Regions from separate parts of the Homo sapiens genome. Here all the other regions are linked to region 1. Evidence: promoter capture Hi-C in 16 types of primary human blood cells and fetal thymus (Javierre and others, 2016). All regions are on one chromosome and are shown on one strand. Each heading gives the region's core, a stretch centred on a gene start or on the middle of the fragment in contact. The rest is flanking DNA. Distances are from core to core; before and after follow the strand shown. Region 1 holds the start of KNOP1 (lysine rich nucleolar protein 1). Region 2 overlaps IQCK (IQ motif containing K). Region 3 overlaps IQCK (IQ motif containing K).

Region 1 (4,171 bases), core at 626-3,125:
TTCGAGTCATCGCATATACTGGTACATTCATTCTTTTTTTCCATTCAATAAACATTTACTGACCTGCACTATCCAATACAGCAGCCACTATCCAAATGTGGCTATTTAAATTTATTAAAATTAAGTCTGGGCTGGGCCTGGTGGCTCAGGCCTGTAATTGTAGCACTTTGGGAGGCCGAGGCAGGTAGATCACCTGAGGTCAGGAGTTCAAGAGCAGCCTGGCCAAAATGGTGAAACCCCTTCTCTACAAAAATAAAAAAATTAGCCAGGAATGATGACGGGTGCCTGTAATCCCAGCTACTCAGGAGATTGAGGTGTGAGAATGCTTGAACCCGGGAGGCGGAGGTTGCAGTGAGCCCAGCCAGTGCCACTGCATTCCAGCCTGGGCGACAGAGCAACATGCCGTCTCAAAAAAAAAAAAAAAAAAAAAATTTGAGTCCAACAAGAAATTCAGTTACTCAATTGCACTAATCACATTTCAAATGCTAACTAACCACACTTTTTTTTTTTTGGGGATGGAGTCTCGCTCTGTCACCCAGGCTGGAGTGCAGTGGCGCAAACTCGGCTCACTGCAACGCCACCTCCCTGGTTCAAGCAATTCCCTTTCCTCAGCCTCCCAAGTAGCTGAGATTATAGGCGCACACCACCACGCCCAGATAATTTTTTTTTTGTATTTTCAGTAGAGACGGGGTTTCACCGCGCTGTTTCAGGCAGCTTAGGTAGTGATGGTGGCCACACGAATGAAAAATCTGAGTCCTTGACCTTGAGGAGCTTATGGTCTAGTGGAGGAAAAAGAAAACATCCCACCCAACATTATTCATTAAGAACTAGCGCTTACGTAGCTCCTTCTGTAAATCGAGCAGTTTGTGTTTTTTTTTCCCCAATAATCCTTTTGCCCTCCTAAAATCAGGCAGTTTGCTAAGCACTTTTTGTGACTATCTGGTTCCATCTTCTTAACACCATCGAAATAGGTGCCATTATTATGCCCACTTTGCAGACAGGGTCATAAGTTAAATAATTTGCCCAACCTAAGTAACAAATACTGAGTAGAGCCACAAAGGAAGATGTGCTCAACTCCGCCTGGGGAGGTTAAGGAAGGTTTGAAGCAAGAAGGGACTAAAACCCGTTTGTCCACACCATGGTTACTGAACGTGTGGGCCACCGACTACCTACGTTAGGATTACCTGGGGTGCTCTTTTAAAAAGTGCAGATTCCCTGCATCCCAATTTGAAGCTCTGTGGGCGGGGCCTGGGAACCTCCGTTTATAACAAGATCCCCACCCCGGCCCCCGCCCCAGCAATTCCTTTCGGTTCACTAACCGAGGTTTAAGAACCAATGGTCCACACCGCATGGTTCTCTTTATTCAGCTTTCCCTCGCCGTTCCCTTGCCTTTAACCTCACTACGGATCGCGATTGGAGTCCGCGCTGCGTAACCTCGGGCCAGCCTCTCCGAGCCTCAGTTTCCCCATGCGTAAAATGCGGAGCCCGGGCCCGCGGAGCCGCTGCCCGGCGGCCCCGCCCGTCAGCCGACAGGCGCACAGTGGGCGCTCCCCAAACGCGGCCCCCGTCCGGCCGCCCGGGTCCCGCCCCTCTCGGCCAGCCCAGGTTTCCTACCCTTGCAGATCTGCTCCCACAGATTCTTGCTTGACGGCTCGGTGACCTGCCACGACGAGACAGGCAGCTCGCGGGACGCGAGAGACACGGTGGGCACCGGCGTCCGGGTGAACGACGAGTCTGTAGAGCAGCTGGGCTTGAGGCGCACTATGTGGCTGGGGATTTGCCGCGGTGCCGCCATGGCCGCGGTTTCCACGGTAACCGCGTTCGCCGGAAGGCCGCGACCCGGAAGAAGCCGGAACCCGAGAGGGTGGGCCGGCGACTCGAAGTGGACTTCCGGGTCACGGCGGAGCTGGCTCTCACGTGGAGGCGGGGAAATTTCGCCCACCGGTGAGTGCCAGGGCGCGTTGCAGGCGGGCCGGCGCGGGGTGTGGAGATTGCACCAGAGGAAGTGCGCGGCGGGGAAGATGGGGAAATGCGGTCCACCCACATCCCTGAATCCGACCCCTCCAGTCGGTGTGCGCCCGCTCCGGCCTGAGGCCGCCGCCTCCAGAAAGTTTTCCCGCCTCAGAGCCGGCCCTGGGACCCCACGTAATCCCTCCCAGTCTGTTGATGCGGAGGCTTGGGCCCATGGGAGCCTTGGAGGTACGGATCTTACTTCCTGGCTCCCGCGCGTCCTGCTGGTGATCCTGCCGGGGGAGTGGGGTGTTGCTGCACAGGCTTTGGAGTCCTGTGGGCGGAATTCCAGTCTCCGTTTTCCACTTGCTGGCTTTGGAACCTAGGGCAAGTGAATTATTGTAGTCTCTGGAGCTTGCGAGGTCGGGTATTCACAAAGATCTTCACAAGGCTGTCCCTGGAATTTAAAAGCGGTTTTGGAGAAAGCGTTTGCGTTTGCAGGAGATGCACTGTAACGTTCTTTTCCTTTCTCCTTGAAAGAGTGAATGCATTTGGTCGCAGGGCTAAAGAGGAGGATGCTATACTTTTCTAAATGGCAAGAGATGGGGAGAGAAGGGGATTAAGAGTTGACCCGCAACCTCCCGGTGGATTCTTTGTTCTTACCAGATCTCTTGGCCACTCCCCTATTCTGAAGTCGTCTTGGCTCTCTTGACTGCTCCCCTATTCTGAAGTCGTCTTGGCTCTCTTGACTGCTCCCCTATTCTGAAGTCGTCTTGGCTCTCCTGACTACACTATTTCAAGGTTTGCACCTTCTTCTTTGCAAGCTCCTTTATCTCTGCCCACTTATTTAAATGCCAATACAATAGTCCCCCTCCCCCATTATCCGCGGGCAGTACGTTCCTAAACCCCCAGTGGATGCCTGAAACCACAGACAGTACCGAACCCTAAATATAACTGTTTTTTCTTGTGTATACTATCTATGAGAAAGTTTATAAATTAGGCACAGTAGGGCCGGGCGTGGTGGCTCATGCCTGTAATCCCAGCACTTTGGGAGGATGAGGCGGGCGGATCACCTGAGGCCAGTAGTTGGAGACCAGCCTGGCCAACATAGTAAAACCCCGTCCCTACTAAAAATACAAAAATTAGCCGGGCGTGGTGGTATGTGCCTGTAATCCCGGCTACTCGGGAGGCTGAGGCGTGAAAATTGCTTGAACCCGGGAGGTGGAGGTTGCAGTGAGCCGAGATGATGCCACTGCACTCCAGCCTGGGCAACAGAGCCAGACCTTGTCTCACAAAAAATTAGGTGCAGTAAACGATTACCAACAATCTAGCTAGTAATAAAATAGAACAATTACAACAGTATACTGTAATAAAAGTTGCATGCATGTGGTCTCCCTCTCAAGATAACTTCCTGTACTGTGCTCACCTATTTTGGGACCAGGGTTGACCAGGGGTAACGGAAACCTGGGATTAGGTGGCGAGCTACTGTATTTCTTGAAGTCTTGTCTCAGGCTTGTTCTGTTCAAGGCTTATCACCACCCATACATTCCTAACTTTATGTCGCCCGTGTCAGCACGGCCACCCAAACTCCTCATCCATATATATTCACCTGTCCAGTGAACATCTCCAAGTCATCTGTCCAATCAAGCCTGTTCTTCAGCCACTTGCCTTCAGTACCTTTGTCTCAGGGATTAATACCACCATCCTGCAGTTGTTCTTCAGAAATTTTCCTGACAACTGGTAGGACAGGTTCCACAACCTCCACCACCCTGACCTTAGCACTGTCCTTGCTTTTATCACCTGTATCATTGTATTACACCTTATTCCCTCCCACACCTACTTGCTTCTTGATGGGTGGTGTTTTATCTTGTTCATCTCTGTATCCCTAGCATGTGTGCATTCATTCAGTGAGTATGTATTGAGCACCTGCTATGTGCCAGGCACTGAGCAGGACACTGGAAATAAACCAGGAAACAGGGCAGACAGCAATGAATGAGTATAGTTATTCCCTTGACTCTCCAGGTGCGCCTGGAGTGGGTTATGAATGAACTTGACCTGTAGCTCAGGCCTGGCTCTTTGAAGCTGCTAAGAGAGAGCCAGCTCCAGTGTGGACCCTCTGAGTTCCGAAGCTGAGGAGGGCTGCAGGATGGAGAAGTTTTTCCTTTCCCTCCCATGATCCTAACTTGCTATGAAATATTTTGGGATATTTTGCTTCTAGATT
Region 2 (4,171 bases), core at 1,132-3,631, 110 kb before region 1:
ATGAGCCACCGCACCTGGCTTATATTTGTATGTTGATAGATGAATGGGAAAACTATGGGCTGATATACTCAACAGTGATTGTCTTTGGAAAATACATCACTAAAACTTGACCTTTTTTGTTAGATGATAGACTGTTGGTCACAAAGGTTCTCAACTAATGGTAGAACTCACTTCCTGAGCCACAGGCTAGAGTGTTCCTGGTACCCAGGTTCCCTCTCTGGTGGCCAAACCTTTCTCTGCTCCTCAAATGTAGATGGACAGAGGATTTGGAAAGAGGGAGAAAAGAATATTCTTATCCTTATTCACTTAACCCTGGTTTCTTGCTTTAGTGAAAATATCTCCCCAAAACACTCATGTAGATCCTGCAGCCTTTGAATGGGGCTCTCAGCCTCCTCTACTGCCAAGCCTCCCCTATACTAGTGGTCTGTGGTCACTCCAGTGTCAGGGTGCAGGCTGGGAGGCATAGCCAGACACTGCCTGCTGTCCAGCCTGTGGGTCCTTAGTTACCATGCTGAGAAGCTTTGCACTGGACCACTGTGGCCTATTGGGCACTTGGGTTACAGAACAGCATGGCCTGGGATGGCTCTAGCCTCTTTGGCATCAGGTAGATCCGGGTTCAAATCCCTGGTCTCTGGCCTGACTGGCTGCGTGGACTTGTGCAAGCCATGTATCCTCCCAGCCCCGGTTTCCTCATCTGTACGATGGAGATGATCTCACCTCTCTGAGATACCATGTGTGAGGACTACGTGGAAACATAAGGTGCTTAGTGTAGTGTCTGGCACATGGCATAAGCTCCATCGCTCGTAGCTACTCCTTAGTTGCAGACATCCTTCTTTGCTCTCGGCAATGCACCCAATTACATGGGCTAGGAAGGAAAGAACTAAGTTCCAGCATATCTTATGTATTTATTTATTCTGAGATGAGGTCTTGCTCATTACCCAGGCTGGTGTGCAGTGGTGCAGTCACCGCTCAGTGCAGCCTCGGGTTCCTAGGCTCAAGCAATCCTCCCACCTCAGCTTCCTGAGTAGCTGGGACTACAGGAGTGTGCTAGCACGCCTGGCTAATTTTATTTTTTGTAGAGACGGGGTCTCATTGTGTTGCCCAGGCTGGTCTCGAACTCCTAGGCTCAAGCAATTCTCCCACCTTGGCCTCCCAAAGCACTGGGATTACAGCTGTGACCACAGCCTCCAGCAAATCCTAAGGTCACAAGCAGGTGGGGCGGTAAGATGAGGTGTTCATCTTAAGAATAGCCTTTAAACCACAGGGAAATCCTAATCGCTAGGATTTGTCATTGTGGTCTAAATTAAAATTAGGGAAAAGAACTTTCTCTGGTCTCCACCCTCTACTCTGGGCTTTCATGTTTTCCCTCTAGAAGGAAACACTGCTCTAAGAAACTTACTATATTTGGGAATAAAATGGTGTTCAGTATGTTATAGTGTCCTCTTTATGAAAGAAAAATCAAGTCTCAGCTCCAGGAAGGTGTGCTTCCAAGAAACTCACTTAATCTTGAGGACACAATAAATCATTAATAATCGTATTTCCTTTATTGTTGTGGCTTCCTGGAAGCTCAGAGCCATATTTCTATTCACTATAGGAACATTTTTGAGGCCATGATTCACATTGCATAATGTATTAGGGAAGCGCTGAGTATTTCCCGAACAAATGGCCCTTTGTCTTTTTTCTTATGGACACTGTGAATTTATGTAATAGATTCTATTTCCATCTTACTTTGGCAGGTTTTCCTAAGAAACTTCTATGTTGGTCAAAGGGTACAAACTTTCAGTTATAAGATGAATAAGTTCTGGGGATCTAATGTAAAGTATGGTAACTACAGTTAATAATACTGAATTGTTTATTTAAAAATTGGTAAGAGAGCAGATTTTAAGTGTCCTCACCACACACATACACACACACAAATCGTAACTAAGGGTGATAGATGTGTTCATTAATTTGATCATAGTAATCATTACACAGTATGTATGATACGGCTTGGCTCTGTGTCCCCACCCAAATTTCATCTTGAATTGTAATCCCCATGTGTGGAAGGAGGGATCTGGTGGGAGGTGACTGGATCATGGGGGAGGTTTCCCCCATACTGTTCTTATGATAGTGAGTGAGTTCTCATGAGATCTGATGGTTTATGTTTGACAGTTCCCCCCTCACTCTCTCTCTCTCCTGCCGCCATATAAGACGTGCCTTGCTTCCCTTTTGCCTTCCGCCATGATTTTAAGTTTCCTGAGACCTCCCAGCCATGCAGAACTGTAAGTCAATTAAACCTCTTTTCTTTATAAATTACCCAGTCTCAGGTATTCTTTATAGCAGTGTGAAAATGGACTAATACAGTATACGAATATTAAATCATCATGTTGCACACCTTGAATATATATAATTTGTATTTGTCAGCCTAGGCCTTGAAGTTAAGTATTTTACTTACAGAACTGAGTGGCTTTATTTTTTTCCCTAATCTTAATTATTCCTTAATTACCACCTTTACCTAAAAATATCATATTGTGTGTATTTCCGTAACTACTAAAAACCACTCTTGGAATGAAGTAGGAAATAAAACAGTTAAGCAAACAAAAAGTAGACAATTCATTTCCTTTGACAGATCAATCTCTCCAAGTCTCTGCCTTTTCTTCAAAACGTTAAGAAGTGATAGTTATTTAGAGATTATTTGTGCATATATAAAGAATATACACACAAACACATACATGATAAATTTATCTGATGATATATATGATGTATATATATGTGTGTGCATATATATATACACACACATAGGTAATGTAATCTGATGTTATGGGAACAATTTCTATGGTTTCTTTCTCCCTGCTCATACTAGATTTCTAAATAAAATATGGATATTCAATTACAAAGCACATTTGAAAACAATTACTGACTATGTGAGGCTAAAAATATGCTATTAATCGAGACACGATATTTTTTACTACATCTCAAAAATGACTTGGGCATCTTATTTTAAACTACATTGGCTGAAATTCTTACCATACACGTTTTAAAATAATTCCTGCATCTGTCCTGATGGATAGAGACTTGAAGATAACTTCACACCGCTTCCATCCTAGAAGAAAATACTGTTTGGGACAGTCAGTCTCTGACTCACTGTAATGTGAGACAGGCTATATATGACCACAATTCCACCCCGACAGCTGATGTGACTCTCCCTCAGACCTCCTGACTGCCCAAGGTTGCTCTAAGCTATGAACTTGGTAAAATCTCTTTGTACTGTAAATGCCGGAGCACAATGTGGATAAAATGGCAACAACTTAAAAAGATATGCCTGTCTCCTGGATTTGTACATAGATGAGCTTTTTTTTTTTTTAATGAAGTTGAAAAACCATTTTCATTTGCAATCACTCCACTATTTTTTATTGCAAGTCTAAAGGAGAACTAGCATGTGCTTAACATCCATTTTCAAACTGCTTCACTGCAAGCCTTTGAGGTCTAATTGAGGTGTCACCTTGGCTGGGGAGATTTATTTTGTAACCCCCCACACTACCCAGATTCATAAGGTTTAAAATAGGAAGTAACTCTAGCGCATGAGCTTAACAAAGTGATTCAACTCGGCGACAGTTAAAGGGAACAAGAAGTTCTGCTTCACCTGGTGTGCAGCAGGTTGTACTCTGCTTCTCGTAATTCAGCCCCTAGCTGGAGGCTTCAGTCCATGAAAACATAAACAGCAAGAACCCTGAAGCCCAGAGAGGAAACTGAACAGGTCATATGTCATGTTCCAGAAGATTCCTGAGAAGCTGGGTCTGAGAGCAGAATCTAAGAGAATGTCTTAGCTCTCTGCATCTGTCCTCCAGGATATGTTAGAACACTGGACAGAGAAAGGGAAGTCCTGGGCCCAGCCCCAGGCTCTCCTCTGCTGTGTGACCTTGGGCAAGTCATTCAATCTTGCTGGAACTTCATTTCTTCATATGTAAAATGAAGCCCAGAGCTTCATCCCCTAAATATGTTCAGACCATCTGCTCTGTGCCAGGCTCATGATGAATAAGACAAACACGGTCCTACATGAAAGCCCATGGAGCTTGGAGTCTATTGGAAGAAATCAACACAAATATTTTAATAATACTATCATGACAATAACTAACATTTATGGGAACTATGTGCCAGGACTTGTTCTAAAGATCATCATCTCTTATAATCT
Region 3 (4,171 bases), core at 459-2,958, 81 kb before region 1:
CAGCAGGCGGAGGCTGCAGTGAGCTGTGACTGCGCCACTGCACTCCAGCCTGAGTGACAGAGACAGAGATCCTGTCTCATAAAAAAAAAAAAAAAAGAGAGAGAGAGAGAGAGAAAGACTGTGAAGACTTGTAATAGGAGGTCTATAGGCAAAAATCCTCAAACTTCTCTGCTAGTGAAAATATTATTTAACCATAAGCACTTATTGTGTACATAGACACACACACACACAGCCCAAACCCAAAACCAAAAACACTATTAGAAAGACTATGAAATACAAAACAAGATGATTTTGGAATTTCAGAATGAACAGAGTACACTAACAATCAGATTAAAATAAAACAAAGAACACTTTCCAAATACTAGTGTTTCAAATTTTTTTTGCATATTTACACACACACACAAACACACACTCCTAAAAAGGCTCAGAAAAAATAGTCTAAGTATGTCAAATTTTAACTAAAGAAGAAAAGAGTAAAAAACATTATCATGGTGGAATATAGGTTTCTAAGTAAAGTTTTTATTACTTTGTAAAAGCCATATATGTTCTTTGTAAATAATTTTAAAAATATAAAACAGAGAGAATAAAAACATCACTCCTTATCCTGCCACTGAACAATCACAATATTTTACATATGTCTTTGTAGCCTATTTTCTATATAAAGTTATTTTTTACATAATCATAAAATAATCTGCACGTGGCATTTTATTCATTTTTCACTTAGTAATACTATGGGCAATTTCCATCTTGTTACCATGACTGATGTTGATTATTTTTAGTGTTTAAATAATACTCTATGGATTAAATTCCCAATATTTATTTTATAATTATTATTATTGAATATTAAATATTATTGAATATTCATGTTTAAGATGCTGCATAATTTCAGGAAGAAAATGCAAATTCTTGATCAAGACAGTAGTGCTTCTATACGGTATCACCGATACACGCTCCATTGACTCATCCAGCCTCCAGCTAGCAGAGGGGTTTTAAAAACCATAGGCTAGGAGCTGGGTAGGCCAGCGGAATTTAAAAATATGTAGCAAGTGGCCACTCAACTACTATTTCCCAAGCTTCTCCAAGCCTCAGATGTCTAATACATATGGTTTTGAATGGTATCCCCGAGTTGTGCAGCGCACAGCCCACACAACTGAACAAACTGGTCCTCCCTTCTCATACCCTCTAGCATGGTGTCCTCACAACTCCACCCTCCCGAGACATGCATCACGCTCCCAATCCCTTCCTTCCTCTCTCTACTTTCCCATCAAAACCTATGGCTAAAGTACACTTGCATACATTGCTGGTGTGCATATAGATTGGTCTAGGGGTTGAACTCCAGCCTCTCTAGAGGGTAATTTATCAATAATGATCTGAACTCTTGAGAAACGGTGCTTACTCTTTGAGCTATCAATTCCAATGCCAGCAATTAATCTGGAGAAAAATCGGACAGGTGTGCAGACATATGAACGAGGATGCTTTTGGGTTTTTGGTTTTCTGTTTTTGTTTTTTATTTTGCTCTGTTTTATTTGAGAGACAGGGTCTTTCTCTGTCACTCAGGCTGCAGTGCAATGGCATTATCAGAGCTCACTGCAGTCTCGACCTCCCAGGGCTTAAGTGATCCTCCCACTCAGCATCCTGAGTAGCTGGGACTACAGGTGTGTGAATTTGAACAATAATGTTTTTCACTGAATATATAGGAGAGGAAACAAGAATGTCTAACCACCTATGATTAAGTTATGACTCAATGTATTCACTGGGTGTGTGTGTGTGTGTGTGTGTGTGTGTGTGTGTGTGTGTGTGTATATATATATATATAAAATAAAATATAGGCCAGGTGTGGTGGCTCATGCCTATAATCCCAGCACTTTGGGAGGCCAAGGCAGGCAGATCACCTGAGGTCAGGAGTTCGAGACCAGCCTGCCCAACATGGTGAAACCCTGTCTCTACTAAAACTACAAAAATTAGATGGGTGTGGTGGTGGGCGCCTGTAATCCCAGCTACTCAGAAGGCTGAGGCAGGAGAATCGCTTGAACCCAGAGGCGGAGGTTGCAGTGAGCCAAGATCACACCACTGCACTCCAGCCTGGGTGACAGAGCAAAACTCCATCTCAAAAATAAATTTAAAAAATAAAAAAAATATATATATATACCATAGAAGAATTAAAATTTGTGAGGTACATCTTTGTGTGGCAATAATGAAACATATTCCCAATATATATTAAGGAGAGAGAGTAGGCTTAAAAAAGTGTTTATAATTGCAATTTTGTAAAAAATGTTTTAAAAATTTCCATATGAATAGAAAAAATTCTAGAAGGATGAATAGTATATATTTTTAAAAAGCTTATATGCATTGCTGGGCACGGTGGCTCATGCCTATAATCCCTACACTTTGGGAGGCCAAGGTGAGAGGATCCCTTATATCCAGGAGTTTGAGACCAGCCTGGCCAACATAGTGAGATCCCTTCTCCAAATTTTTTTTTTTTAATTAGCCGGGCATAGTGGCACATGCCTGTAGTCCCAGCTACTCAGGAAGCTGGGGTGGGAGGATTGCTTGAGCCCAGGAGATTGAGGCTACAGTGAGCCATGTTCACGCCACTGCACTCCAGCCTGGGTGACAAAGTGAGACACTGTCTGTCAAAAAAAAAGACCCCAAAACTTATATGCATTATCTATTTTTTCCACAAGTGATATGCATTACTTGCACAATTAAAAAATATATATACGTTTTAGACAAATTTGCTTGTTGGGGTAGGCTCTCCTCTCCAGCCATGGCCAAGCCTCAAGCTGACATAGGACAGTCTTTTCCTGGGACAAATTGAAATGGCTGCTCTCTACCATTGGGTCCAGATTTTCATTTTGTGCCAATATCCTCCTTTGTGTGCCAGTAATAAAAAGTCTGCATATTTTCATACTGAAAATTTTATTGTCAGGACTCTAGGCTGTAAGTGACCGAAATATATATATATATATATATATATTTTTTGTGATGGACTCTGGCTCTGTCGCCAGGCTGGAGTGCAATGGCATGATCTCGGCTCACTGAAACTTCCTCCTCCTGGATTCAAGCGATTCTCCTGCCTCAGCCTCCCAAGTAGCTGGGATTACAGGCACCCGCCACCATGCCCAGCTAATTTTTGTATTTTTAGTAGAGACAGGGTTTCACCATGTTGGCCAGGCTGGTCTCCAACTCCTGACCTGAAGTGATCCACCCGCCTCAGCCTCCCAAAGTGTTGGGATTACAGGCGTGTGCCACTGTGCCCGCCCTGAAGTCCATCTTTAAGGGGATTCATTGGTATAGCTGAATGCAGGCCCTCAAACGACAACTTCAGGACCCAGCCCCTTTCTCTGCCTCTTACCCCTGCTTGCCTCTGTGGTCATTTTTCCAACAGGCTCTTCACACTGTGTTAAGATGGTGCTGACAGTCTGGCCTCACGGTAACCCCAGTGCAAAGAGGGCTGCTCTGTCCCAGCCACTCCACTGAGGATCCCAGAATGGAGTCTCACTAGGTCTGACTGGGCTGATTTCCGTCTGCTGCCCATCATGAACTAAGTCCTATAGCCAGAAGGATGGAATACGTGTCCAGGCTGCCACAGCCCCTCCACATCTAGGGTGAGATCTGTCCCACCCTCAACCTTGTACTCTGCTGATACCAAGCTGTTTCTCCTTGGGGGTTCCCTCATTTACCCTAGTTCGCCCAATGCACAGATTCTTATTGTTCTCTGCAAGTGGAGATCAGAAATCTCCGTTATTTTATTTTATTGGTTTTTTTGTTTTTTTTTTTTTTTTGCAAGGCCTCAAAGGGGCTGCTGCAGCAACCTGGCACTGTATTGTTCATCAAATAACGGGTAATGATTGATGGACTTCGTAATTCTCAGTTGTCACAATGCCTGGAAGGGGAGCTGATGTTGGGACGAGGGGAGGATTGCTAATGCATGCCACCCTGGGTGACTCTGCTGAGTTAGAATAAAACAAAACAAATGAGTAGAAGGCATAAAACACCACGGGCGCTTATTTAGACGGAATAAATATTCAGTGGATTTATCTGGTCTCTACTTCTAAAATCATTAAAGAAATTTCCATCATGATGGCCCATAAGAACCTTATATTTGAACCTCACAAGAAAGCAAGGTTTTTTTTCTTACCAATTGTATCCAAGATTTCATAAACCAAAG

What was found. Contacts are between HindIII fragments. The CHiCAGO score rates a contact against its expected background, and 5 or more counts as called.
Region 2: a fragment that was not itself captured here is called in contact with the fragment with the promoter of KNOP1 in region 1 in 1 of 17 cell types (endothelial precursors); the score reaches 6.3 in endothelial precursors.
Region 3: a fragment that was not itself captured here is called in contact with the fragment with the promoter of KNOP1 in region 1 in 1 of 17 cell types (endothelial precursors); the score reaches 7.2 in endothelial precursors.

What each region holds. Positions count from the first base shown.
Region 1 is chr16:19,715,931-19,720,101 of GRCh38, reverse strand. KNOP1 (lysine rich nucleolar protein 1) reads left to right here and starts at 1,875. Exons shown (of 5, transcript NM_001012991.3): 1 at 1,875-1,944. It overlaps IQCK (IQ motif containing K), which reads right to left and starts at 1,831. Exons shown (of 9, transcript NM_153208.3): 1 at 1,615-1,831. The coding sequence starts at 1,795. RefSeq lists an enhancer at 1,622-1,951. The HindIII fragment of the contact is 12,693 bases long and covers 1-4,171 here.
Region 2 is chr16:19,830,832-19,835,002 of GRCh38, reverse strand. All of the region lies in intron 8 of IQCK (IQ motif containing K), which reads right to left. Among named protein-coding and RNA genes, the nearest start is that of GPRC5B, 52 kb to the left of the region's middle. The HindIII fragment of the contact is 3,720 bases long and covers 522-4,171 here.
Region 3 is chr16:19,797,228-19,801,398 of GRCh38, reverse strand. The region is part of intron 7 of IQCK (IQ motif containing K); the gene reads right to left. Among named protein-coding and RNA genes, the nearest start is that of IQCK-AS1, 33 kb to the right of the region's middle. The HindIII fragment of the contact is 1,266 bases long and covers 1,076-2,341 here.